2 separate regions of the Homo sapiens genome follow, and region 2 is linked to region 1. The links are contacts of gene promoters, found by promoter capture Hi-C in blood cells and fetal thymus (Javierre and others, 2016). All regions are on one chromosome and are shown on one strand. Each heading gives the region's core, a stretch centred on a gene start or on the middle of the fragment in contact. The rest is flanking DNA. Distances are from core to core; before and after follow the strand shown.

The links. The method cuts DNA at HindIII sites, captures the fragments that hold promoters and counts their contacts. A CHiCAGO score of 5 or more calls a contact.
Region 2: a fragment that was not itself captured here is called in contact with the fragment with the promoter of DUSP26 in region 1 in 2 of 17 cell types (non-activated CD4 T cells and total B cells); the score reaches 7.0 in non-activated CD4 T cells.

The regions. Positions count from the first base shown.
Region 1 is chr8:33,598,614-33,601,313 of GRCh38, forward strand. DUSP26 (dual specificity phosphatase 26) reads right to left here and starts at 1,410. Exons shown (of 4, transcript NM_024025.3): 1 at 1,052-1,410. The HindIII fragment of the contact is 17,028 bases long and covers 1-2,700 here.
Region 2 is chr8:33,488,435-33,491,382 of GRCh38, forward strand. MAK16 (MAK16 homolog) reads left to right here. Exons shown (of 10, transcript NM_032509.4): 3 at 86-195; 4 at 300-364; 5 at 554-705; 6 at 1,851-1,905. Among named protein-coding and RNA genes, the nearest start is that of MAK16, 4.7 kb to the left of the region's middle. The HindIII fragment of the contact is 5,323 bases long and covers 1-2,948 here.

The sequences.
Region 1 (2,700 bases), core at 160-2,659:
CCTACAAAACACGAGGTCAATAACGAGGGGCTTAGCAGGTGTGTCTCAGATTACCTGTTGAGCTGCAGAGCTGGGAAGGACCAGCGTTTGAGGCTTGCCCTGGGACCTTCAGGCAGGGAGGCAACAATGGCAAGGCCCCTTCCCCCTCCCTCCCCATCCTCTCACACCTGTGGTCCTGCCTGTTTGAAAGCAGGAGGTCCTGGAGCCTGCAGAATCCCCTTCCACTCCCTTCCTGGCCTCCTGCCAGGGGGACTTCAACTCTATGACCAGCAGTGAGAGGCCATCTTTGTCCCTGCCCATGCTCTGTCCCCATCTCACACCCCTAGACAGGGCCCAGCTCTCCCTTGCTCCAGTGCCAAGAGAAACCAAGCACTTACAAGGCATTAGAAGCAGGGGTTTTAGGACCAGGATTGGTGAGGGAAGATTGGATGTTAGGGAGTTTAGGGAGAGAGAGTTTTCAATGGCTGGGTCCGGAAGGAGCACAGAAATATAGCACTACAGCCATCATCACCACCACCATCACCATCATCACTACCACCATCACCACCATCACTATCACCATCATCTTCTTCTACCTTTGCACCCAGGCCTAAAGACCCCATTACTGTATTGCAATACAACCTTTCCTCTTAGAGAGTCTGCTGTCTACGAGATGATGAATGGGATGGGGGAAGCGTGAAGGAGCCCAGGTCTAAGAAGGATCTCCGTGGGGCTGTTTTTCCCGGGGGATGCAGAAGCCCCTTTCTGTCCAGGGATACAGCCCTGGGCATTCTCCAATCCCATCCGTCGGCTCCAGGGGCCCTGGCCCGCCGCTCCCTCCCTCCGCCTGCGGTCGCCTTTGTAACAGGTCCATGGCTGTCGCCCCAGTCCTCGCCAGCCTGGCAGCCGGGCCCCGCGCGCGGAGGGAGGGCGCCCGGGAGAGAGAGGCTGGCTCGCTGGGCTCGGGTGCCCGCTTCCCGGTCCCCTCCCTCCCCCGTCGCCCCTAGCTGGGCGCCTCTCCCCAGCGTGGAGAGCCAGCTGAAAAGGCGAAGGCCCGCCGCAGCCCCTCTACCTCTTTGCAAGCGCTGCGCTGGGCCTCAGTCCGAAAGGCGGATCGCCGGCGCAGACAGCGCCACGGCCATGACGCTCCTGCTGCTGTCGCCGCCGCTGTTTCTGCCCAAGACAGGTTGACAGATTAGCAGCTATTTTTAAGCCATGACACACACGTCGAAGCAGGGTTCAAATCAGCGTGTGCGCTGGTGACATAAAGGGACTCGGTCTCACATTCGGTGGCCCGAGTCGCCAGGCAGCGTGGGCTCCCCAGCCAACCCCCCACGAGCCCGCGCGCCTTGCAGACCAGACACGGCCCCGCCGAGCCCCAGCAGCACCGCCTGGAATGCATGCGTGTGTTCTCAGAGCTGCACCAATTACAAAGCGTTTTGCCTAAAGATTACATTATAAGTCATCCCAGGCACTGTCTTAAACACACACACTCCTCCCAGACAGAATTAACTAATTACATAGACACGATTCTGTGCACTGGCTTGTACATGCCTCGGTCTCAAGAAACCGTGTCATAAAGAACAATGGTCCGAAGCCCCCATTAGCCTTCATTATATGCCATGTGCTTCATTTAGCTTAAGGCATTTTATACTCCCCACAAGTCTATGAGGGAGACATAATTACTATTGTCCTAATTTTAGGGAGGAGGCGACCTAGGCACAGAGAGGCTAGGTACTCTGCCCTGGTCACACAGCTCGTTACTGGCAGAGCTGAGCTTGTTCAAACAATGCAGCCTGGCTTTGCAGTTTATGTCCTTAACCACTCTCTAAACCAGTGCCTCCCACAAAATGGAGAAGGCACCATGGATTTCCTTCATTCAGGAAGCCATTTCCACCAGCTCAGCTCATAGTGAACTTCACTTTCCCCAGACTCTCAAAACATTCATCTTCATATTTCTTTCTTTCTTTTTTGAGATGCAGTCCCACTCTGTCGCCCAGGCTGGAGTGCAGTGGCGCAATCTTGGCTCATTGTAACCCGCCTCCCAGGTTCAAGCCATTCTCCTGCCTCAGCTTCCCAAGTAGCTGGGATTACAGGCGCCCGCCTCCATGCCTGGCTAATTTTTTGTATATATTTTTTCTTTGTTTGTTTGTTTTTTAGTACAGATGGGGTTTCACCATGTTGACCAGGCTGGTCTTGAACTCCTGACCTCAGGTGATCCACCCACCTTCTCTCAAAGTGCTCAGATTACAGGCATGAGCCACTGTGTCCGGCCATCTTCATATTAATTTCTCATGTGCTGCCTTCTAGTGACATATTCACTTGATCGGCATTTTTATTGTAAGCACCAAGATTGTAAGCACTTTGAAGGCAGGGACTGTGCTACCTTCCCCAGTGCCTACCTTATTGTGTGAGAGGGAAGTGGGGGAGATGATAAATGTTAGCAGATGATGCTGTTGAGAACTAGGCTGGCTTGAACTCTCGCTGTCTACTAGAAGAAAGGCAGAAAGTAGATTGGCTCAGATTGAAGCTGATGGTGTCAGCTATAGCTGAAACCAGGACTGACTCCATTCCCAGCAGTGGTGGCAGATCAGGTTTTGATCTCTGGGTTAGAGAAAGTACTGGCCAATGTGACCAATCCCCAGGTTCCATGACAGGCTGCCATCCAAGTTTAATGTACCGCCTAGCCTTTTTTTTTCTCTAGAGAAACAAAATTCTTTT
Region 2 (2,948 bases), core at 55-2,554, 110 kb before region 1:
TCAATTTACAACTTGGTCAAAGATTCCTTCAGTTGCCTCTTTGGCAACCCATTTTATAATCTTTGTTTCTTTTCTCCCATTCTAGAACCAAGACTCAGAGCTTCTGCCGAAATGAATATAGCCTGACTGGACTGTGTAATCGGTCATCCTGTCCCCTGGCAAATAGTCAGTATGCCACTATTAAAGAAGAGAAAGGTAACTCCCCAGTTTTAACTTCTAGAAGAACTGCTCCACAGCTTTTACAGGGATGTTCTTTAGTTTCTGTAAATAACACTAAAGCTATTTTACTTTATCTTCAGGACAGTGCTACTTGTATATGAAGGTTATAGAACGAGCGGCTTTTCCTCGGCGTCTCTGGGAACGGGTAAGCCTTACAACAAAACTACAGTGACCGCTGATCAAGAGCATCAAAGCCACATGCTTGACCATGATGCCCAATTCCATGACCATTAACTTTTGAGGCCATCCTCATTAGGCCATGGGTGTCACTGACAGTGAAAACCTAATGAATCATTTACACTTGCCCTTCAAACTTCCTGTTTCTGTTTGGTAGGTCCGGCTTAGTAAAAACTATGAGAAAGCACTGGAGCAAATAGATGAAAATCTGATTTACTGGCCCCGTTTCATTCGACACAAATGTAAGCAGAGATTCACCAAGATCACCCAATACCTAATTCGAATTAGAAAACTTACACTAAAGCGACAGTAAGTATTTGGATCATTCATTATTTTTAAATCTCTCTTTTTATGGAGCTTGTTTTGAAGTTGAGAAATTGTGAAACTTCGGGGCTTTCTATTCAACTTTGTGGAGTCTGTTATGATGTACTAAAGAGAAACTTTAGCTTTGACTAAAGGTGTGCCCTTTGATATGGCAGGACTTTTAAAACAGTAGAATACAACTTGATTATCACCCTCCTTGTCTGAAAATCTTTCAGAAAATTTTATTTTCTTTTTTGTTAAGACGGAGTCTCACTCTGTCGCCCAGGCTGGAATTTGCAGTGGCGCGACCTCAGCTCACTGCAACCTCCATCTCCCCGGTTGAAGCAATCCTCCCACCTCAGCCTCCTGAGCAGCTAGGATTACAGGCATGGACCACCATGCCTGGTTAATTTTTTTTGTATTTTTAGTAGAGATGGGGTTTCACCATGTTGGCCAGGCTGGTCTAGAATTCCTGACCTCAAGCGATCCGCCTTAGCCTCCCAAAGTGCTGGGATTACAGGCATGAGCCACCATGCCCAGCCTTCAGAAAATTTCCTCTATGACCCCCGAGGGAATCTTAACTTTAGAGATTTGAAAATGATCTAAGACATGTGACTATACAGGAATGTAAGAACTTTACTCTGGATTCACTGAAAACTAATTTTTAAAAGTGATATGAAATCCCCAGAATTAACAGAATACCTTCTCTAGGACTGTTAGGCCCTAATGCTTTTTGACTGTGATCTACATAGAATGCTAAAGATGATGTCAGACTTCGACAGAAAATTCTTTTTTCTTAGTTCACTGAAGTCTTAATTTTAGCATGGTGAATGCCCTGAGAATCCCAGAATGCCTGAACAAAAATGGCCGGATTAAAATACATGTAAAAATATATGACTTTTTATAGTATTAAATTTCTAGAAGCGTTTAGTGTATCTTGCTGTATTGAGCTGAGCCCTACAGCACCAACCTTGGGCTCCAAGGCTTGTTTGAATCGCTAGCCTCCGTGAATGCCTGAAGCTCAGCCATCCTGCCCTGCACATGAGTAGACTTCCATTTTAGTCACCAATTCCAATCCTTTTTTCTTCTCATCCTTAAAAAGGAACACAGCACATGACAGTGGATTTTCTGATATATTTTCTTTCCCTTAGGAGGAAACTTGTTCCTTTGAGTAAGAAGGTGGAGCGTAGGGAGAAAAGAAGAGAGGTAACTTATTGTTGAGATATTCATACCTTCTACATTTTCTTTCTGGGGGTCTCTTATAGATTCAGTCACCATCATTATGTAAACTGTTGAGGCCTTGGATAATGGTTCACTAATAGATAACTATTAGTTGCCTAAGACATTTAATTTTTCATATTTTAAGATTATGATTTTCAGCACAGGTTAAAGTATGTGTGCTTTGGGGATATATGTAATGGAGAACAGAAAGAATCCACAACTCCTTTTTCTGAATTTCTTGTGGTCAAATATTTCAGACTTCAGAATTTTGATGTTGCATATTTTACATACTACATAAAACCTTTAGTAGATTTTGAGCATTCTAATCAAATGGAATTTCTGCAGTGAAATACAATACAGGCATGCAGTGAGTAATAACATCATGGAAAATTGGGTATCCGTCCCCTCAAGCATTTATCCTTTGTGTTACAAACAGTTCAATTATCCTTACAGTTATTTTAAAATGTACAATTAAATAATTGACTATAGTCACGCTGTTGTGCTGCTAGCAAATACTAGGTCTTATTTCATTCTTCCTATTTTTTTTAGCGGGGGTACCCATTAATCATCCCCACCCCCATTACCCTTCCCAGCCTCTGGTAACCATCCTTCTACTCTGTATATCCATGAGTTCAATTGTTTTGATTTTTTGATCCCACAAATAAGTGAAAATGTGCAGTGTTTGCCTTTCTGTGCCTGGCTTCTTTCACTTAACATAATGACCTCCGGTTCCATCCATGTTGTTACAAATGACAGAATCTCATTCTTTTTAATGGCTGGATAGTACTCTATTGTGTATAAGTACCATATTTTCTTTATCCATTCATCTATTGATGGACACTTAGGTTGCTTCCAAATTTTGGCTGTCGTGAACAGAGCTGTAACACACATGGAGTGTGGGTATCCCTTTGATACACTAATTTCCTTTTGGGTCTGTACCCAGAAGTGGGACTGCTAGATGGTATGGTAGCTCTAGTTTTAGTTTTTTGAGGAAGCTCCAAACTGTTCTCCATAGTGGTTGTACTAAT